7 separate regions of the Homo sapiens genome follow, and regions 2, 3, 4, 5, 6 and 7 are each linked to region 1. Evidence: promoter capture Hi-C in 16 types of primary human blood cells and fetal thymus (Javierre and others, 2016). All regions are on one chromosome and are shown on one strand. The core of a region is centred on a gene start or on the middle of the fragment in contact, and the rest is flanking DNA. Distances in the headings are between cores, read along the strand shown. Region 1 holds the start of C15orf40 (chromosome 15 open reading frame 40). Region 2 overlaps FSD2 (fibronectin type III and SPRY domain containing 2). Region 3 overlaps BNC1 (basonuclin zinc finger protein 1). Region 4 has its middle 35 kb from the start of HDGFL3. Region 5 overlaps FSD2 (fibronectin type III and SPRY domain containing 2). Region 6 overlaps HDGFL3 (HDGF like 3). Region 7 overlaps HDGFL3 (HDGF like 3).

The links. The method cuts DNA at HindIII sites, captures the fragments that hold promoters and counts their contacts. A CHiCAGO score of 5 or more calls a contact.
Region 2: a fragment that was not itself captured here is called in contact with the fragment with the promoter of C15orf40 in region 1 in 10 of 17 cell types (total B cells, monocytes, neutrophils and 7 more); the score reaches 8.5 in total B cells.
Region 3: a fragment that was not itself captured here is called in contact with the fragment with the promoter of C15orf40 in region 1 in 1 of 17 cell types (erythroblasts); the score reaches 5.2 in erythroblasts.
Region 4: a fragment that was not itself captured here is called in contact with the fragment with the promoter of C15orf40 in region 1 in 2 of 17 cell types (megakaryocytes and endothelial precursors); the score reaches 6.4 in megakaryocytes.
Region 5: a fragment that was not itself captured here is called in contact with the fragment with the promoter of C15orf40 in region 1 in 1 of 17 cell types (neutrophils); the score reaches 5.6 in neutrophils.
Region 6: a fragment that was not itself captured here is called in contact with the fragment with the promoter of C15orf40 in region 1 in 13 of 17 cell types (megakaryocytes, erythroblasts, endothelial precursors and 10 more); the score reaches 25.4 in megakaryocytes.
Region 7: a fragment that was not itself captured here is called in contact with the fragment with the promoter of C15orf40 in region 1 in 2 of 17 cell types (erythroblasts and megakaryocytes); the score reaches 8.0 in erythroblasts.

The regions. Positions count from the first base shown.
Region 1 is chr15:83,010,187-83,013,234 of GRCh38, reverse strand. C15orf40 (chromosome 15 open reading frame 40) reads left to right here and starts at 1,596. Exons shown (of 4, transcript NM_144597.3): 1 at 1,596-1,738; 2 at 2,872-2,998. The coding sequence starts at 1,628. It overlaps LOC124903542 (a long non-coding RNA gene), which reads right to left and starts at 1,494. Exons shown (of 2, transcript XR_007064742.1): 1 at 176-1,494. RefSeq lists an enhancer at 1,359-1,418. The HindIII fragment of the contact is 2,628 bases long and covers 104-2,731 here.
Region 2 is chr15:82,758,810-82,761,857 of GRCh38, reverse strand. FSD2 (fibronectin type III and SPRY domain containing 2) reads left to right here. Exons shown (of 13, transcript NM_001007122.4): 13 at 2,258-3,048. The coding sequence ends at 2,510. Among named protein-coding and RNA genes, the nearest start is that of SNHG21, 9.8 kb to the right of the region's middle. The HindIII fragment of the contact is 4,379 bases long and covers 1-3,048 here.
Region 3 is chr15:83,258,476-83,261,523 of GRCh38, reverse strand. The region is part of intron 4 of BNC1 (basonuclin zinc finger protein 1); the gene reads left to right. Among named protein-coding and RNA genes, the nearest start is that of BNC1-AS1, 24 kb to the left of the region's middle. The HindIII fragment of the contact is 1,106 bases long and covers 1,002-2,107 here.
Region 4 is chr15:83,241,378-83,244,425 of GRCh38, reverse strand. No RefSeq gene overlaps it. Among named protein-coding and RNA genes, the nearest start is that of HDGFL3, 35 kb to the right of the region's middle. RefSeq lists a silencer at 423-623. The HindIII fragment of the contact is 930 bases long and covers 1,168-2,097 here.
Region 5 is chr15:82,785,458-82,788,505 of GRCh38, reverse strand. It overlaps FSD2 (fibronectin type III and SPRY domain containing 2), which reads left to right. Exons shown (of 13, transcript NM_001007122.4): 2 at 1,038-1,754; 3 at 1,900-1,995. The coding sequence starts at 1,116. Among named protein-coding and RNA genes, the nearest start is that of FSD2, 19 kb to the left of the region's middle. The HindIII fragment of the contact is 3,444 bases long and covers 1-3,048 here.
Region 6 is chr15:83,202,455-83,205,502 of GRCh38, reverse strand. All of the region lies in intron 1 of HDGFL3 (HDGF like 3), which reads left to right. Among named protein-coding and RNA genes, the nearest start is that of HDGFL3, 3.8 kb to the left of the region's middle. The HindIII fragment of the contact is 5,158 bases long and covers 1-3,048 here.
Region 7 is chr15:83,180,447-83,183,494 of GRCh38, reverse strand. All of the region lies in intron 1 of HDGFL3 (HDGF like 3), which reads left to right. Among named protein-coding and RNA genes, the nearest start is that of HDGFL3, 26 kb to the left of the region's middle. The HindIII fragment of the contact is 6,389 bases long and covers 1-3,048 here.

The DNA.
Region 1 (3,048 bases), core at 347-2,846:
AGAGTCCCAATATACCTTCAACACCTCCCCCGCCTTAGTTAATGAAAGAAATTCCACCTCCCATCACCAAACCTACAAACACAGCTACATGTCCACCTAAGCTTTCCCTTAGGAAGGAAGGAGTGTCTAAGGCCTCCTGTAGAGAACTCAATCTCTACTTGAGCTCAGATCCTACCTCTTCAGGAACCGTCCTCTGCTGTAACCTCTCTTCTCCTGGCTCTTTCCTACCAATCTTCAAATATGATAAAAATAAGTCTCTGAATGTCATGTGCCCCTCCAGATACCAATTGCTCCTTCACAGTGAAGTCACTGGATTATTCTCTACAATTATCTCCATTTCCTTCTCTCCACTAAAACTGCTGTAGCCCGGGTCACCACCACCACCCTGATTTCTAAATCTTGTGGCCACTTCTCAGTCGTTACATGTGACATGTTCTCTCCAGAGTGTTCATCACTGTTGATGTTCCCTCTTGAAGCGCCCTTCTTTAGCTGCCGTTACACCGTACTCCTACCTGGTCAGTGTCCTTTGGTGACTTCTCTACCTGCCCTTGCTGTTCTAACCTGGGCCCTCGTGCTCTTTACACACTCTCTCATCCATTTCCATAGCTTCAATTGCCATCTGCTTTCAGAAGATTCCAGAATCTCTATCACCAGCCTTGATTTCGCAAACTCCAGTCACATATATTCAGTTACCCCTTTAACATTTGTATTTGGATGTCCTGTGGGCATCTCAAACTCATTATGTCCAAAGCTGAACTCCTCACCTCGGCCTCCCAAACCTGTTCCTTGGGCCCCAAACCTGGGCATTTCCTTGACTTTTCCCCCTTATTCGCACATGCAGTCATTCCCAAGTTCTGATCATTTCAGTTCCTGAAGATCCTTGAAATGATCAGCGCTCCACCCTCCCTGCGGTTACTCTAGTTCAGGCCACCCTCTCCCATTTAGGGGGCGGATCTCCCTGTCTCTGGCTTTTCCTCTGTCGGCCACAGTGCAGCCGGTGTCTTTCTAAAACCCAGCAAATTGGGCTGCTAATAATCCCTTGCTTGAAAGCCTTCAGTGACTCCATGATCTTGCCTCTGCTGATTTGTTTCATGTCTCTCCATATCACATGTCGCAGTGTATTTCCTCTTCTTTTACATTGTGGGATCCGCTGCGCCTGGCACAAGGTAGGTGCGCCATCGATACGTGGAAGATTCACAAGGGCCAAGCCGCCACGAGGCTCTATATCGACTTGATGGCCACAGGCAGCGCGTGGGACTCTGCATCTGCTGCTTGGCTGTGGGAGCGAGAAGACACCTGGCCCTGTGCACTCCTTGCCGCGCTCTCCAATTCTGAGAAGTGACAATACCTTTCTTTCCCCGATTAGGAAAGAGGTGACACACCTTCCTATCAGCTGAGCAGGGTGGGCCAAGACACGGTGAGGCCTCAGCTCCGCAGCTCCACTTCCTGGGGCTCGGCCCGTTCCAGAACAAAAGAGACTCGCGCATGTTCTGCGGCCACGAGACTCGCTCCCGCCGGCCTTAAGGTGTCGCCCTCTGGCCAGAGCGGATGCGCCGGGCGGTGGGGCCGCTCCTGCCGGCTACCTGCGCAAGCGCAGAGGGCTCTTCCGGCGCCTTCCCAGGCGGGGATGCTGCGGCTCCGCAGCGGGCTGAGGCACCTTCGGGCAACACCCAATACTCGGGGCTCCGCTCGGCTTCTTTGCGCCGAGATGCCTAAGAAGGCTGGTGCGACGACCAAGGCCAGTAGCAGGTCCCGTGGCGGCAGAGGGGTGGGCCTCAGGGGTACTTGTTGAAGAGCGCGGGAGAAGCGGGGCCCGGGAGTGAGTGGAGGCACTGCCAGCGGCTTGCCGTCTCTCAGTTCCGGGGCTCAGGACAGCCGCCGCCACCCCCAGAGCTGCGGCCTGCTGCCGTCGCCCCGCCTCAGTAGGCTGCGCTGCCGTCCACCTGGTGATTTCTGAGCGCTGGGCCCGGCGGCAGCCGAGCTCTCCTTGGGCTGCGTGTGCTGACCTTTGGCCTCCTACCCGCACTCCCAGTCCAGCAATTCATGTTCCCGCAGCGGCATGACCTGCGTTTCCCCAGGAGGCTGTATTCTGCTTTCTCCTCCCTTGCTTTGGCTGATCGCACCCCTTCTGTCAAGAATACAGCACTCCCATTTCCACCATCTTTGTTTGGCCAACCCCAGTCCGTTTCTCAGACTCAGCTCAAGCACTGCCTCCTGCTGGCAGCATTCTCCAGTGCCCCAATGCTGATTTGCCTGTGGGGTAATGTTCTGTGCCTATCTCATCGGTGCACTTAGCACAGTGTATTATAATTTTGTATGTTCTTTCTCCCTCGCAGCAGTCCGAGCTCCTTGAGAGCAAGGACCATGTACCTTTTCATCTTTACATATCCATTGCCTACATATTTGTTGAACGAAAGTTCCTAGCACAGCCCCTGTCCCATAACAGGCCTTTAAATATCAAGCACTATTTTTTTTTCCTCCCTTTCCCGCAACATGCAGACATACACACTTTCACCAACATTTATTAGCTCCGACTGCATGAGATACAATGATGAATAATAAATGATCCCTGCCCCCAAGGAATTGGAAATACAAAGCAGAGGGAGGAGCAAGCATTAAGGTTTAGAAGCCAGAGTTAGGTTTTCTTGCAAGGGGGGAAAAAACACTGTTGGGTTGATGGGAACCCTTCGTGGGAAAATTGAGTAGAGCCTTGAAGGTTGTGGGAAAAGCTTTCTAGGTGGCCAGAAGTCCCTGGACACCACTGATGAGCCTAGTTTGTCTGTTAAGGGTGAAAGGGGGTAGTGGAAGAATCAAATTAAATGTGTGGGAAAATATTTTGTAACCTGTAAAGTTGTGTGGTTGTCATTTTAGGGTAAAAGCCAGAGCAAGGAACCAGAGAGACCACTTCCTCCCTTAGGTCCTGTGGCAGTTGATCCTAAAGGATGCGTCACCATAGCCATCCATGCAAAACCTGGCTCCAAACAAAATGCTGTAACAGGTATACCTGGACACTGGGGTGGGATTCAAGTGTGAATCAGGTGTCTCCTA
Region 2 (3,048 bases), core at 162-2,661, 250 kb after region 1:
TTTACTTCTCACAATTGTGTTATCTCATTTGAAAAATCAGAATGCTGGGTGCAGTGGTGTGCACCTGTAGTCCCAGCTACTCAGGAGAGTGAGGTAGGAGTATTGTTTGAGCCCTGGACTTCAAAGCCAGCTTGGGCAACATAGCAAGACCCCGTCTCTAAAAAAAAAAAAATAATAAAATAAAAAAATAAAATAAAATAAAAGAATAAAAATAAGAAGACCACACCTCACAGCAATTAGATAATCCAAACGACATGGATTTGGAACTTGGATTCAAACTCAAGCAGTCTGGTTCCAAAGATTTCATTCCTAACCACTTAAGTGATAGATTTTTCATTTCTGTTCACCTTTAGTATTAAGCCAATACAGTTTGCTTTGAAGCCCCAGTTCCATCTTTTTAAGTAAATGTGGGCAAGAGGCTTAGTAGTTATGGCTAATTCTGGTTTGCTCCTGCTGCTGGGCACTCTGTCTTTACACATGGAGTAGTTCCATATAGTGGGAAAAAAAGTCTCACGAAGCCCAGGCCAATGAATACACTTTCAGACTTAGAAGGCCATGGTTACAACCTTCCTTCACCTCAAAAACTGAAAAACAAGACCCCACACTGCTTTCCTATCACACCTTGTAAAATGGGGCCTCTGACCCTCCTTGATTTGATGAATCCTATTAATGTTCATCCAATGCTCTCTGCCCATGATCCTCTATCATGGTTATTTACACATTATGTGTCATGCCCAAGCATAAGTGGGAAAACCAACTTCCCCTCCGATAACAGATGAAGACTCTAATGAAATCTACTAAACCTCACACCCAGTTTGGGGAATCCAAGAATTACTATACACTGAGGCAGATACTTTATTTGGGGATTCTGCCTGAAGTAAGACTAAAGAGCAAAGTCTCTTCTTTAGAAAGGCAAGAACAAGGGGCAGAGTAAAACTAAGGGAGCATAAAGAAAGCCTAGAAGTCCACGTGTAGAGGGAAGAATAAAGGGGGTAAGAAGACACAATAGAAGAGGGGTGGAAACAGAAGAATGACAAAAGAAGGGCAAAAGCTACAGTCCAAGTGCTAGAGCCAAGCCAGTTTCTTACAGATGTAGGGTGTGTGTGTGTGTGTGTGTGCGTGCACGCACACACGTGCACACACGTTACAAGTGGAGAATGAAGGTAAGGTATCCTAGGATAAGGTCTCCTAGCAGACTTGCATTTTTGGCTCATAGTATTAGACTTTATTGGTGGTAGCATAGAAAGTAGAAGAAACGACTCATAGCTTCTGGCAGCTGCTTAGTTAAATTAAGGTGAAATGGGCTAGAGACAGGCAGGCTTCCTCTGACACGTTTAGATCATATTCCAAGTGTTTATCCCAGTAGCCTAGACTAGCCTGTTGACACAAAGAGCTCTTCAAATATCTGTAGGTAGCAGGGTTAGGAAATTCCTGTGACAGGTTTTCATTTCTGCCATTTTTCAAAGTACACAGGATGTAGAGCATGGATAGTGATATAGTATTGATTGGTAACAGGCCCACTGGCTCCCCACTCAATATGAAAGTTTAAGAACTGGAGTAACTGTGCATAGAAGAGCTTATACCAAGAAGCCCATTTTATCACATGGAAAATCACAAGGTTCCCTGTTTCAAATGTCTAATCCAAATTTTAAAAACATGTTCTATTCCTATGCTAGTTTAGATGAAAGAGAGTTCAGGATGCTATAGGTAAATTTCTTAGGTTAAGAGGTTGCTAGAGAAAAAATGATGTTTGAAAAATGTTTCGGCCAGAAGCAGTGGCTCACACTTGTAATCCCAGCACTTTGGGAGGCCAAGGCAAGTGGACTGCCTGAGCTCAGGAGTTCGAGACCAGCCTGGGCAACACAGTGAAACCCTGTCTCTACTAAAAATACAAAAATTAGCCGGGCTTGGTGGTGCACGCCTGTAATCCCAGCTACTCAGGAGGCTAAGGTGGGAGAATTGCTTGAACCCAGGAGGCTGAGGTTGCAGTGAGCCGAGATTGCACCACTGCACTCCAGCCTGGGTGACAGAGCAAGACTCCATCTAAAAAAAAAAAAGAAAATGTTTCTTAGGACAAATTTTAGAAAAGAGATAGTTTAGAGAGTATAGTTTTAGAAATGGCTTGTCACCTTGGTAGTCATTTAATACTAGAAAATAGCAAAATCATAGGACTATGAATAAAATTAGTATGAAATGTTCTATAAATAGTCAATCTATAGAATTACTGAAACTTTATTATGTCAAATTTAATTTTCAGGCATAAGTATGAATTTCTGCACAACAGAACAACTCCAGATATAAGAATAACAGTTCCACCAAAGAAGATTGGCATTCTATTAGACTATGAACATTCAAAGTTGTCATTTTTCAATGTGGACCTTTCTCAGCATCTATATACATTTAGTTGTCAGCTTCACGAATTTGTGCATCCCTGTTTTTCTTTGGAAAAGCCTGGGTGTCTAAAGGTACATAATGGCATTTCAATGCCAAAACATGTCACTTTCTATTAGAACATTCTGATGTCCAGTTTCCTGTCTTCCATGCCTACCCCTCTCGCAGCTGCTCACGCCTTAGCTGGCTGAACCTGGCACTTAAGCACCATGTGCCCAGCACAATTTATGGCTCATGCTATTATCTGACTGGTGTGCTAGCGCTCATTTCACCCAACCTGGATTCTAGTCCTGTGTGCTGCTACCTGTGTGCTGCTAGGATAGTCATTACCAGGCCCAGCTGTAAAATAAAGGCTCAGACTAAACGAACTCAAAAGTCTTTGAAGCTGTCAAACTATATTCGTGTATATGCAAAATATCTTGAGTTTCCAAGACCTAGAGAGCTTGGGAGAGGACGAGGGTAGTCTTAATGGCTCCAGCAGCACCAGTACACCCATGCATTTCATGAGTCAGCCAAGAATACACTTGAGAAGGCGAGAGGCTGTCTGTAGAGAACCAGGGAAGCTGTGTGCCCTTCTCAATGTCTTCTACCCTCGTTTTCCCAATAGTGAGCAGCACTGTGGTGAGGTCCCTTCCACTGTGTACTCTGCATACAGGG
Region 3 (3,048 bases), core at 305-2,804, 250 kb before region 1:
ATGAAATGGAATATGATAAATGTTAAATGGTACACTGAATATTAAAATGCTACATTTGCAGAAACAAGCTTGACTTGAAGCAGTTCAACACCACCACTTGGTCCAAGTTGTAATGCCTAATTTGTTAAGAGGGTGAAAATGTACAGACTCCCACACACATTCCTGGACAGGGCTCATAAGAACATACTTATTGTCTTTAGCAAAGAGGATAGAGCACAGGAGATATTAGTTAAATGTTTATATTAAATCAGTGTTTCTACTGATAGGATGTTGAACCAAACCACCAAGGCACCCTAATTAGTGAACCAGTCCTTCTTCAGCCTCCAAGAGGAGGAGTGTTTGTTCATGAATAAGCTGTTGCTACAGAGACAGTCATGTTGGTCATATTATCTTTGATATTTATGATACTGTTCTATCCTACAATATCTACTAAATTGGAAGGCATATTGGATTCAAGATACTTTTTCATTTGATATTTATTTTTTCATAGATTTAATATTTCCTTATGTTCTGACCTATTTGTATTAATAGATCCGAGCCTTCCCCCACCACAACAGGAAAGCATCTTGCGTTATAAATTAAAACCACTAATTAGTCTAGAACTTGAAATGCATTTTACCTAGAATCTATGATTTAAGTTACAGTATTTTAAATTTGACTTTGTGGGCAGGCCCAGACCTGACACCATTTCTCTCAGTCAGAGATTGAGAACCACATTCCTGTAGGGACATTTAACTTCTCTTTGAGCCACTGCTACTGCCAGCAACAGTTACCAAGACCCATCAGGAAGGGACTGGGACAACACCCTGGATGCTTATTTACCCAGCAAATATTAAGAACTGTCTATGTTAGGTGCTGGGGACATAATCCCTGCCCATAGAGGCCTTCTGTAGTGGAGGAGACAGACCAGAAACAGGCAATTACAGTTGAATGTGATTACTTCTGCAGTGAAGGAAATGTAGGCTGTTGTGGGAGGGCACCTTGAGAAGTTAAGGAAAGCTTCCTGGAAGAAGGGATATGTCTACACCAGTAACTCTGAAACGTTTTGGTCTTATAACCCCTTTACAAATACTTAAAACCTAAGGTTACTCAAGAGCTTTTCTCTATTTGGGTTATATCTATCAAAATTTATCATATTAGAAATTAAAAATTTAAAAATTGTAAAACTTTAAATTATATATTAACATATGTTTATGAAAAAAACCCTACATTTTCCAAAGCAAAAATTTAGTGAGATGAGTGGCTTTGTTTTACATTTTTGTAAATCTCATTAATGTCTGACTTCGTAGAAGACAGCTAGATTCTCATATCTGCTTCTGCATATGCTCTGTTGCAAAATTGTGTTACGTAGCCTCTGAAAAACTCCACTGTTCACTCATGAGACAATGAAAGTGAAAAAGGCAAATAATATCTTAGTATTATGAAACTTTGACTTCAGGAACCCCCTGAAAGGGCCTCAGAGATCACTAGGGGTGCTCAGACCACACTTTGAGAACCACTGGTCTCAACTAATCAAAATAGAAGCCAAGAGGAAGAGTTGGAGGGGAGAGGTAGAGGTTGTAGGGTTGAAGGGAAGAGATGGAGACATGGGCAGTGAGTACAGGATTAGGAGAGTCCTAGAAACCAAAGCCTGGCACATGATCCAGAGGGTTTTTACAGTTGTAGTAGTTACTGGTCTTAGGGGACATGGCACCTCAGGAAATGTATCTAACCCTCTAAGGCTTGAGAGGAGCGAGAGCCCACAAGTTAGCCATTAGTATGCATGGAATACTCAGGAGTTGAGTATGAGTCCCAGAGGTTTGCTTTGTTCCAGTAGGGACCTTTCTTTACAAGGTTCCAATAAAAGTGTTTGTCTTTCTTTTTAACCACTTGTATGTACTGGAACCTGTACGTCCACCCAGTGTCTGGTTTTCTGTCGGCACATACCAGCCCCTTCAACCCAGAATGCTGACATAATCACAGGGCAGAGTTGGAGTTAAGAAGGGCTGCTTGCAAAGTGGGTGATCTGGGAGTATAATTCTGATTATGTCCAGAATATATGTGTAAGGGAATAGAAGACAGAAGTTGAACAGTAAATTTTGTACATTTTATAAAACATAAGTAAGCTTCCCACACACGTCTTTGGGGATTTAAAAAGTTCAATTCTTAGTTATTTTGGTGAAGGTGTTTTCCCAACTTGACTCTGCCATACATTCTGATATGTATTGGGGGAGTGTTTTCTCTATTTGGAATAATTCTCCTATCACCTTTAAGATTGTAACCCCCTTGGTAAGGACTTTTGCTTGTCAAAAGTTAGCAGAGGATTTCTGAGGAAGACCAACATTGATTTACAAGTTAATTCCAAATGATAACATATGACTAAAAGGCATGTGTCATAATGGATACTCATTATCTGTCCTTCGAGAGTAATCATTGGGTGGAAGATTGGTGGTATGCTTATTCTGCTGCATTTGCAAAACTTCTGTCTGGTATAGGATAGTGAAACGTTACAAATATGAACTAAACTACATACACACACAATTCTAGCCAATTGGATTCTCAACCACACTTTTAGAATTTTTGGGATGAAGTGTATGTCAATGCTCTTGACCAGTGCTATCCAATAGAAATACGATGCAAGCTTCATATGAAATTTTAAATATTATAGCCACTGTAAAAAAGCAGATGCAGTAAAATTTAATAACATTTAACTTCAGTATATCCAAAATATTATCCTTTCAACATATGATACTAGCCACATTTCAGGTGTTCAGTATCCATATATGGCTAGTGGCTATCATTGGACAGTGCAGCCCCAGAAGGTAATGTTTCCTGATTTCATTGAAATAAAGTCCTTTTCTTAGTTCCTTATAGTTTGTGACCAGTTTTCTCCTGGGATCTCCTGGTTCCAGTGTCCTAGTTAAACTAGTCTAGTTGATTTAGTCTAGTCATTCTGGGAGACAGACCAGAAACAGGCAATTACAGTTGAATGTGATGACTTCTACAATGGGGGAAGTGCTGCTGTGGGCACATGGGAGGGCACCATGAGAAGTTAAGGAAAGCTTCCTG
Region 4 (3,048 bases), core at 383-2,882, 230 kb before region 1:
ACGATTTAAGTCTGCTGTTTATGAACAATAACTTTTTAGAAAGTTATCACTATGCCTATTGAAATTCTTTAATTGAATCAATAGTAGCTGCTGGAAAAATCCAATTGTCTTAGTCATGAAAGACCCAAATCTCAATGTTAAATACCTGAGAGGATTCCAAGCAAAAAGTTCGGGGATAAACTGAGCCAACCCCACTGTTTCATTACTAACAATAAACTATCTCGATTAATAAGTCCTTGTAGTCTTGAAAAGTACCATATAGTTTCTATACAGTTCACTTAATGTAGTTAATTTTCACATCAGCCCTGCAAGGGCAGCTCTGTTTTACAGGTCAGGAAGGAACAACTGGGAGAGTTCCCAGGCTTAGCGTTTCTCCCGCTATACCACATGACCTCTGGGCTCAGAAAAAAAGGACACACGGGAAGTGAGAGCCCTCAGCTTTCTGCTCTCTCAGCTTTCAGAACCAGTCCCGCTGTCCTTTCCTCCTTCACTTTCCACTCTCCCTCTTCCTGAGCTGGGTCAATGGACCAAAACGTGGAGGCTTGCTTGAGTTTCTGGGTGAGCAGTTCTCCTTGGCTGGTTGGTCATGGGCATTCAACCCAGCCAGGTGCTCTTACTCAACTCCACTTTCATTGCCCACAGCTCGGACCCCACTCGGTTCTTCCAAAGCTAGTCAAGTGAGGACTCTGCTGGCCGCTGACAGGGACAGCCTGAGGTCAGGATGTGCAGTAGGGTGTACCCTGAATAGCTTCCCGAAGGACAGGGAGAAAAACCTATCGCACAATGCTTGAGTGAAAAAATAAACACGTATGATAGTATGACTTTTGTTAAAGAAGGAAGGCGCTTCTCTGACCCAATATCCAAGCCACCAGAGTAGAGATCTAAGGATATGAAGAAGTGTTAGCTTTTCCTAAATATTGGGAATTTTTTCCTGAATGCAAAAGTAATACAAACTAATTGGAGGTAGGGCGGGAGGAGGTGCATGGAAACAGTAAAAGACAAAGATTAAAAAAAGATCACTCTAATGCTACCACCCTGCCAGCATCCTTCCATCTTCTTCCTTTCTTTTGTTAAAAGAAAAAAAGTGTTTGTTTAATCATCTACTTTTCATTTTTATCTAAGTAATATATGCACGTAGTTTTTAAAGTCAACTAGCACCAAAAAGCTTTTACAATAATTGGAATTCCCTGACCCCCACTGCCTCCCTACCCCAGTATAAATTAAGTTTATAATTGTGTACATTTATAGGGAACAAAGTGATGTTATGATTTATGAATACAAAGTGGAATAATTAAATAAGGCTAATTAACATATTCATCACCTAAAATACTTATGTTTTATAGTGAGAACATTTGAAATTTACTCTCCTAGTAATTTTGAAATGTACAAAACACTATTATTAACTATATTCACCATGCTATGCAATAGATCTCAAAAAAAAAAAACCTCATTCCTCCTCATTGAGATTTCGTACCCTTTAACCATCATTTCTCCATTTTCCCCTTACCCCACTATTTGGAGTTATGCTTGATTCCATAGCTTGGCCATTGTGGACAGTGCTACAATGACAATGGAAGTCCAGACATCTCTTCAACAAACTGATTTCAAGTATTTTAAGTAAATACCCATAAGTGGGATTGCTGGATCATATAGTAATTCCATTTTTAGTTTTTTGAAGAACATCTATATAGTTTTCCATAATGACTGTACTAATTTACATCCCCACCAACAATGTACAAGGGTCCCTTTTCTCCACATCCTCACCAATACTTGCTATCTTTTGTCTTTTTGATAATAGTCATTCTGACAGGTGTGAAATATCACGTTGTGGTTTCAACTTGCATTTCCCTAGTGATTATCAATATCAAGCATTTTTTCATATACTGTTGGGCATTTCTATGCCTTCTTTTGAGAAATATCTGTTTAAGTCCCTTGCCCATTTTTAAATTATTTTGTTTGTTTTCTTGCTATTGAGTTGAGTCCCTTATATATTTTGTATATTAACCCCTTATCAGATATGTGGCTTGAAAATATTTTCTCCCACTCTGTAGGTTGTCTCTTCACACTGTCAATTGTTTCCTTAGCTGTGCAGAAGCTTCTTAATTTGACATAATCCCATTGTCTATTTTTGCTTTTGTTGCCTGCCCTTGTGAGGCCAAATTCAGAATATCATTGGCCAGACCAATGTTGTATAGTTTTCCCTCTGTTTTCTTTCAGTAGTTTTACAGTTTCTGATCTTATGTTTCAATCTTTATTCCATTTTGAGTTGATTTTCATATATGGTGTGAGATAAGGATCCAATTTCATTCTTCTGCATATGGATTTCAAGTTTTCTAAAACCATTTATTGAAGACTATCCTTTTCCAGTTGTGCATTCTTGGCAACTTTATTTAAAACCAATTGACTATACATGCATAAGTTCATTTCTGGGCTCCTTATTCTATTGCATTGGTTGATATGCCTATTTTTTGCCAGTACCATACTGTTTTAATTGCTATGGCTCTGTAGTATAGTTTTCAGTTGGGTAGTGTGACACCTCTCCAGCATTGTTCTTTTTGTGCATGATTTTCTTGACTACTCAGGGGGTTTTGTGGTCCCATATGAATTTTAGGTTGCTTTTTTTGTTTCTATGAAAACTGACATTGGAATGTTGATAGAGATTGAATTGAATTTGTAGATTGCTTTGGGTAGCATGGATATTTGAACAATATTAATTCTTCCACTCAATGAACACAGGATATCTATTTATTTATGTATACCTCAATTTCTTTTTCCTTTTTTTTTTTTTTTTTTTTTGAGACAGAGTCTCACTCTGTCACCTGGCTGGAGTGCAGTGGCACAGTCTTGGCTAACTTCAACCTCCGCCTCCTGGATTCAAGCAATTCTCCTGCCTCAGCCTCCCCAGTGGCTGGGACTACAGGCGTGCACCACCATGCACAGCTAATTTTTGTATTTTTAATAGAATTGGGGTTTCACCATGTTGGCCAGGATTGTCTTGATCTCTTGACCTCGTGATTCGTCCACCTTGGCCTCCCAGAGTGCAGGGAT
Region 5 (3,048 bases), core at 292-2,791, 220 kb after region 1:
TGAGACAGGGTCCTGCTCTGTCACCCAGGCTGGAGCGCAGTGGTGTGATTTAGGCTCACTGCAACCACCACCCCTCAAGGCTCAAGTGATCCTCCCACCTCAGCCTCCCAAGTAGCTGGGACCACACGTGCACACCACTATGCCTGGCATTTTTTTTTTTTTTTGTATTTTTGGTAGAGACAGGGTCTTGCCATGTTGCCCAGGACGATCTCGAACTCCTGAGCTCAAGCAATCCATCTGCCTCAGCCTCCCAAAGTACTGGGATTATGGGCATGAGCCACCACGCCAGGCCTGTTCTGTTACTTTTAAGTACAGTTTTTTTCAAATGTTTTTGTGCAGGTGCTATCATATACAAAAGTAATTGTTTTGTGAATTGTCTGTGCACATTCATCTATTGAGATGCCACTTTTTCAATTAATTTATACAATTTAAAAATAATAGACTGGGCGCAGTGGTTCATGCCTGTAATTCCAGCACTTTGGGAGGCTGAGGTGGGTGAATCACCTGAGGTCAGGAGTTCCAACATAGTGAAAACCCGTCTCTACCAAAAATACAAAAATAAGCTGGGTGTGGTGGCACATACCTGTAATCCCAGCTAGTTGGGAGGTGGAGGCACAAGAATTGCTTGCACCCTGGAGGCAAAGGCTGCAGTCAGCCGAGATCATGCCACTGCACTCTAGCCTGGGTGACAGAGTGAGACTCCATCTCAAAAATAAATTAATAATAATAATAATAATAATTGCCTGAGATGCTTCCCATTATTTTGCCTTTTAAGTTTTTTTTTTAATGTATGAGGGAAGTATTTTGTTGGACATATCTATTAGACATTTCTTTTGTAATTTCTTTTGTCTCTTTTAACCTTAGAAAGCCCATCCTCCCATAGAAAACAAATTTTTTAAAGATGGTTCAAAGTGAAACCACGACTGAACTACACAGATAATTTTTTTAAAGTTTTATATGAGTAGAGCCCAATCTAATGATCATCTACTGCAATGCCCTTCTCCAGAAATGATTTTCCTCCTCCTTTTGTGTTCCAGGGCCCAGATATTCACTATTAAGTGTCCAGGAAGGATCTTTCTTATATAAAGGTGCTTCTGAGGACTTCCAGAGTTACAATGGAGGAGGAATCGGGGGAGGAACTGGGGCTGGACAGGTCTACTCCCAAGGATTTCCACTTTTACCACATGGACCTGTATGACTCTGAAGACAGACTGCACCTCTTTCCAGAAGAGAACACTAGGATGAGGAAAGTAGTCCAAGCTGAAATGGCCAATGAGTCAAGAGGAGCAGGGGATGGTAAGGCTCAAAGAGACCTTCAAGAGGAAGTGGATGAACTTGTCCACTTATATGGACTTGAAGATGATCATGAATTAGGGGATGAGTTTGTTGATGAAAACATACCCAGAACAGGGGTTTCAGAATATCCTCCTTATATGATGAAGAGGAGAGACCCAGCCAGGGAGCAGAGAGACTGGAGACTTAGTGGAGAGGCAGCGGAGGCCGAGGACCTGGGCTTCGGAGGGTGGGGCTCAGCAGGCCAGTGCCAGGACTTGCGGGAAGCCTATAGGTACACACACGGCCGTGCCAGCGAGGAGTATGAATGCTATGTCATCCCCGAGGAAGAGGATGAAGAAGAAGCTGCTGATGTCTTCTGTGTCACTTGTAAGACTCCAATAAGAGCTTTTCAGAAGGTTTTTGATGAACATAAGGAGCATGAAGTGATCCCACTCAATGAAGCACTGGAAAGTGCCAAGGTAAATAGGTGTCCTTGGTTCTTCTCTGTCTTGATATTGCTTTGGTATCTCAAGTACATACGCAGGGAATAAATCTAAAACGCCTTCTACAAGAGTGAGAGAAGATGTAACATTAATACCTTCTTTGTGATCCTCTGTTGGATAGGATGAAATTCACAAAAACATGTACAAATTGGAAAAGCAGATAATTGAGATGGAAAACTTTGCAAATCATTTGGAGGAGGTTTTCATCACTGTGGAGGTAAGAGCACACTTGAAGACCTCATCAGACTCACATTTCTTCCATCAATGGCTATGTCAAGCAGCTGTTTCTGGTATGAGCTAGAGAATCTGTTTTCTTAGAATGTGAGGGGTCACCACTCCCCCTTCTCTCCTCCCTTCTTTCACTGACCTCCCATAGCACCTGGGCATGGACGTCATGGAACCAATTACCTGTCAGCATTCCCTGCTGAACTATAAGCTCTTGGTGTGAAAGCTGGGTCGTCTGTCTCAATATCCCTAGTCCTACTACATGGTATGTTTCAGAGCAGGCATTTTATACATGTTTGTTGCATGAGTAAATAAGGTAGAAATTTCCCAATCACAATCCCTCTCCTTCACTGGCTTCATTTTCTCCTAATCCCCCTTTACCCAAATCACCAATTGTATGTGATTTAGACCCTTATTCGAATTCTTTTTTTAATGTATACTGTTTTCATCATTCAACTTGATAGACCCTTATTCTAACAAAGATGACTTCACGGTGGCATCATCCAGTGAATTCCCTCATTTGAGCCCAGGTGGTGAAGAGGGGACATCCTTTCTTTTGCCCTTGTCTTTTTGGGTTTGTTTATTTGTTTTGGACCTCTTTTTTTGGGGTAGAAGTTCTTACTGAGAATCCCCGGGTTGCTATCTGGTGCATTGGCGGAGAAACCAGAAACAGTGGAGTTCCATGTTGTTCCGTTGGTTTCGGGAGTTGTTAATTTTAGGCTTTTGGGGGTACCTATAATGTTGACTATATAAAGTCAGGTGTAGACTGTCAAACACTTTTTTGTTGTTCTAAGAGGCAAAATACCCACTTCTGCCAATGATCGCTACTCAAACAAAGGAATATTTTTAGCTCTGCATGCATTTAAAAAATAAATTTATGGCTGGGCACGGTGGCTAACGCCTGTAATCCCAGCACTTTGGGAGGCCAAGGCGGGTGGATCACCTGAGGTTAGGAGTTCGAGACCAGACTGGCCAACATGGTGAAATCCCATTTCTACTACTAATAAAAAATTAGCTGGGTGTGGTGCCATGTGCCTGTAGTCCC
Region 6 (3,048 bases), core at 178-2,677, 190 kb before region 1:
AGTTGTATATCTAATTGTACATAAAATTCCTGGAAGTGATAATTCCAAATAAGGCAAAATGGAAAATAAAATGAGGAAACAAAATTAAGTTTTTAGATAAAATAGGTACAAGAAAGAAAAATCTGTATCTATTCACATTTAACGAGCTCCTCAAGAAACAACCTAAGACTCAAAAAAAGAAGTTTTATTTTCTCGTTAGTGGCATGCTGCAATTTCCAAAGGTAAAGGTTAGAAAAAGATTTGAGTCCCCTTTTTTACAGTGCGTATACTTCACATATGTTTTCATTTTTTTCATCCCAATTCTATGAGGCATTATTCCCATCTTACACCTAGGTATAGCTGTGTAGATGATAATGTTATAAAATGCTAACTGGGAAAAAAAGTCTTGCTTATTGAAGTTTCAAATATTATCACTTGATACGAAGGCCATTCATGTGGGCATTAGATACTGTGGGGCGCCAAGGACTCAAACTTAGGAGGGAAACCAGGAAGAAACAGATTTCAGAGTACATGTTGTAGGAAGGCACTTTGTATTAGAGCTGGTTCATACAGGAATGGAGAAGCAACTTCCTTGCTCTAGGGAAGATGTTTGGTCCTAGGCAGCCCTTTGTGAGGAATGTAGGTCAAGAGGATTCAGAATTCCTACAGGTTGGATTCAGCTCTTGGCTGGGCTTCACACTGTGACCTTGTGCATGTTCTGTAATCTTTCTAAGTTTCTGTTTACTCGTCTGTAAAATAAAGATAATTCTCACCTCACAAATACAGAGTATCTAAAAGCACCAAGTGATGGTACTTGTATGTTCCTACCTTTTTCCTTTTTGAATTTCTAACTTTCCTTTGTATCACTACACTATTTTAAATTATTGTCAACTTTCAACTCAGATTTATTTTTCCAATATTTTATCCTGAAAAATTTCGAATATATAGATAAGTTTAAAAAATTGAACTGTGAAGACCCATTTATCTACACCTAGATTCTACAATTAAATTTCATTCTACTTGCTCTTTCATGCATCTGTTCATATATCCTCCCTCTATCTACATAATAGTTCCTCTTATTTTAATGCATTTCAAGGTAAGTTGCACACATCGCCATAATTTACTCCTAGACACATGCATGCCATTAACCTAGTGGTTAATACTTTGAATGGATCCTTTTCTCTTTTGAGGTAAAATTTACATGGAATGGAATGTACTTACCTTAACTGTACCATTCGGTGAGTTTGACAAATGTATACATTGGTATAATATAAATATAGCTCTCTATATGATATATGTCTGATATATATAAGTATATGTGATACATATATATAATATAAATACATAAATACATTGACATAATACCTACCAAGGTATAGAACAGTGCCTACGAAAGTACTCTCATGCCTCTTTCTGGTAGATTCCTGTCCTCCTCCTTCCTTCTCCCCCATTGTTCAGATGTATTATTCTAACATTAAATAGCAGCTGGCTGTTTCTCATCTAGTATGCCTAATTTTGTGTGGCTTTAAAAATTAGAAGTTCATCTATGTTATGGATTAGCTAGCTTAATGTTAAAAAGTACTGAGGCTAAAACGAGTCTCTGATCGCTTTTGTTTGTGTACCCTGTTGGTAAAATAATTTGAGCATACATCACTAATATATCTAAATTTTCTTTATATATACATGTGCTTTCTGTTACTACTATATACAGCATAAAATAAACACAAAAAGAAACTAAAAGGGATGACATGATGAAAACAATATGTTTTAAAATTTTCATTGCACAATATCGTTAACAGTAATAATACTTATTATTACTTATAGGTTAAGTTCATATTTTTTAAAGTCTTAATTTTTGGAATATTTTCTGCCTGCTTCTTGTGAGATTTGACTAGATGGATGGTCATTGTTCTTAACTTCCGAAGAGATTTTCTAGAATAGAAGTGTCAGCTTAGACATTTACCTTGTTGTTTGCTTGCATCTACATTACTAATATTATTTTTGTGTAGGAATCTTTCTTTTTTTTAGCCACCTGTTCATTTGGTGAGAGCTAGTTCAGTTAGAAGTAGATATTCCATAATCCTGCTCAACCGGGCACACACCAAATGGCAGTAAATCACAGTATACTCAACGTGAATAAACATAACCATCTGAATAAGAATACTATTAATAGTGTCAACTTGCATATAAAATACTAGTAAAATTTACTTTTTAGCTAAAAGAGTAAGAAACTGAAATCAAAATTCTGTTTTCTTCCCATACCCCACCCAAACCTTCCGCTGAGATGTGAGCACTCTGCTTATGTTACCCCCTACTCTAAAAGGTCAGAAAACAATGTAAACGAAAAGCCTCAAAATTATTGTGCTTTAACTAAAGCACTTTTTTACACTTAAAAACTTTATATGAGAATTATCAAATATTGCTAGTAGAGTGTATTGATAGTTACTTAAGAAAACTGACTTAATCTACATATGCTTACCTTGTGACCTAGCAGTCTCTTCTAGGCATATACCCAAGAGAAATGAGTGTTTATATTCACCAAAATACTGTACAAGAATGCTCATACATAACAACTTTCTTCATGATAGAACAGGAAACAACCCAAATGTCCATCAGCAGGAGAATGAGTAAACAAATTTGTAGTATATTCACATAGTGGAGTACTATTTGACAATAAAAAGGAATAAATTACTGATACAGTGGTCACTGGTTTGTAGTGGGTAGAAAGGAGTTATTGAATAGGAGAAGGCACTGGAAATGTTCCCTGTCTTGATCTGGATGGTGTTACATGGATGTGTACATATGTAAAAATGTATCAAGCTGTACATTTAAGATTTGTGCACTATACTGTATGAAAGTTATACCTCAATTTAAAAAACACATTTTATATGAGTTAGGGAGAAAGGAGAACTAATACTTCTACATGGATTAAATTTCACTATTTTTAGCTTTCAGTGAGTTGTTTTTTTTCCTTCGAGTCCTCACTCCTACCAAGCTGCATCTTCCTATTCCCTTTTGACTTATTATAGAAACTTCATTTTCTACTTTAGAGCATTCTCTTTAGACTTT
Region 7 (3,048 bases), core at 138-2,637, 170 kb before region 1:
GCCACCATGCCCAGCCAAGGTGCTCTTTATATTCAATCAGACAAGGTTCTTGTTGGTTCAGTTTTTTGAGGGCCTGTTAAAGGAGAAGTTGTAGACAGCAGGGCACAATAAATTTAATTGTCCAATTATTTAGCAATAATTTCACTCTACGATTTTTGTTTTTTTGAATGACACTTTTTTCTGGGGCAGGCCTTGTGCATGTATATTATTATTGGTTTCTTTTTGATTTTTATGTCATGGGGGTTTGGTGTACAGATTGTTTTGTCACCCAGGTAATAAACATAGTACCCAATAGCTACTACTGTGGTTTCAATCTGTACAGGGTTTTAAAAATCAACCTCGGCTTGTAATGAAGCACAGTAGTCTCCTGATTTATTGACTAGATAATATCTGTTGACTTTACATTTTAAGAGAAAAGGATATAGCCAATTTGTTAACACTAGTCTCATCCTCTTCTTCCCTCTCTATTTATATCAACGTATTATTTTGAAAATACTCAAATATACACAAAAGTTGAATATCACGGTGAACACCCATACACCCAAGACCTACATTCTATAGTTAGCATTTTGCTAAATTTGTTTTATCACATTTCTGTCCATCTAACAATCTCTGTTCATCCATCAAGCTATCTTATTTTTTATGTATTTTAAAGTGTAAATTGCAGACATTAATTTACTTCATCCCTAAATACTTCAGCATGCATATAACTAACTAGAGTTTAATATTTATTTAAACTTTTGAGGTAAAATTTACATACAGTGAATGCATAGATCTTAAGTGTTAAATTTCATGAGACCTGTATAAAATATTACCATTACCCCAGAAAATTCTCTAATACCCTTCCCAATCTCCAGAGGTAATCATACTCAGATTTTTTTTCACCATAGATTTGCTTTTCCTTTTCTAGAACTTAATATAAGTGGAATCATCCAATACGTACTCTTGTGTAAGTCTTCTTTCATTTAGCATAGTGTTTTAAAGATTCATTCATGTTATTGTATATATTAGTAGTGTTCCCTTGTATGAATATGCCATAGTTGGTTTGGCCACTTTCATTAGGACACCTGGGCTATTTCCAGATTTAGGCTATTAGGAATAAAGTTGCTATGAACAACCTTGTACAAATCTTTGTGTGGACATACCTTTTCATTTATTTTGAGTAAATACATAAAGCATTATAACACTTTAGTTTGTTAAAAGATATCCACAGAAGATACTACTTCATGCCTACTAAAATGACTAAAATTTAAAGTAAATACATAAAGCATTATAACACTTTAGTTTGTTAAAAGATATCCACAGAAGATACTACTTCATGCCTACTAGAATGACTAAAATTTAAAAGACTAGCCATAAAAAGCCATAAAAAGACTATGAGAAAAGGGAAATATCTGGTAGAGAGTACAGGGAAAATGTCTGAGATGACTTAAATGTTCTATACTTGATTTAGGTATTTGTTATATAGGTATATGCATTTATCACATTACCAAATAATGAAATACACATTTAAGATCAATGTATTTTACTGCATTTAAGTTTTACCTCAACAAAAGTAAAAATAAACCCTAAAAGCAAGTGTGTTTTATTTTATGCCTGTTCAAAATAGAATCTATGTGGACAATAGCTTTGAAGACCAAGGAGGATTGTGGAGGAGGAGGGTGCAGCGTTGGGGGAATAAGCCAGATCAGACAACTCAATTTAAAATGTGACTATAAGGGCCAGGCATGGTGGCTCACGCCTGTAATCCCAGTACTTCAGGAGGCTGAGGCGGGCAGATCACTTGGGGTCAGGCGTTCAAGACCAGCCTGGCCAACATAGTGAAACCCTTTCTCTACTAAAAATACAAAAATTAGCCGGGCGTGGTGGCACATGTCTGTAATCCCAGCTACTCGGAAGGCTGAGGCAGGAGAACCACTTGAACCCAGGAGGCGGAGGCTGCAGTGAGCTGAGATCGCACCTCTGCACTTCAGCCTGGGCAACAGAGTGAGACTCCATCTCAAAAAAAAAGTGACTACAAGAATTGAAAAGGATAAACCCTGGAGGTTTAAATGAAGATCATAAATCGAAATGCCTCACTTTTAACTATTCGAGCTGTGTTCTTTCAGTTGTCAGAGACTACGCCTCTCCCCAGGTATACTATGAGGCTGAGTTAATGCCCCACATATATTCTTCCTCCAGAATCAGCAGTGTAACATGCTAATGAGAAACCTCAGTAAATCATCTGGCCCATCCCCTTTATACAGCCTGCATACATCCCCTGTACATCTGCTATATACAACTTAGTTAAAAGCACTAAGTTCTAGGTATATCATGACCTCTCAAAATTATTTATAATTATTTTAAAGATTAAAATGACAATGTTTTTAGGGTTTTATTGGGTGAAAAAATGTCTGTAGCTATAAGATTGTTCTATCACTAGTAGATGGTCGTTTTTATATATTTGAAGATAACTCAGCCTGATATTTCATACATTTTTTCAAACTAGTATTTTGGAAGGTGTTTCCATATCATCATGCTTGCAGTTCTTTTAACAGTGTTCTTTTCAAATATTAAATTGCCGGGCATGGTGATTCACGCCTGTAATCCCAGCACTCTCGGAGGCCAAGGTGGGTGGATCACTTGAGGTCAGGAGTTCGAGACCAGCCTAGCCAACATGGCAAAACCCTGTCTCTACTAAAATTAGCCGGCCATGGTGGTGTGTGCTTGTAGGCCCAGCTACTTGGGAGGTTAAAGCAGGAGAATCGCTTGAACCTGGGAAGTAGAGGTTGCAGTGAGCCGACATCATGCCACTCCATTCCAGCCTGGGCAGCAGAGTGAGACTCCGTCTCAAAAAAAAAAAAAAAAAAAATTGATAAGTTACATGTTTATTAAACCAAACAGACTCTTATTTTTAAAATTCTTTCCCCTTTCTCCTGTATGCATTTCCTTTTTCATACTGTGATTTTCCCTTCTGCCCCTATGGTAAATTTGTTGACTGATTTGCAGACTTCTCTTTATCCAAATCCATTTTTATAACAACATCACATGTTAGGGTTTTTTCCCCTT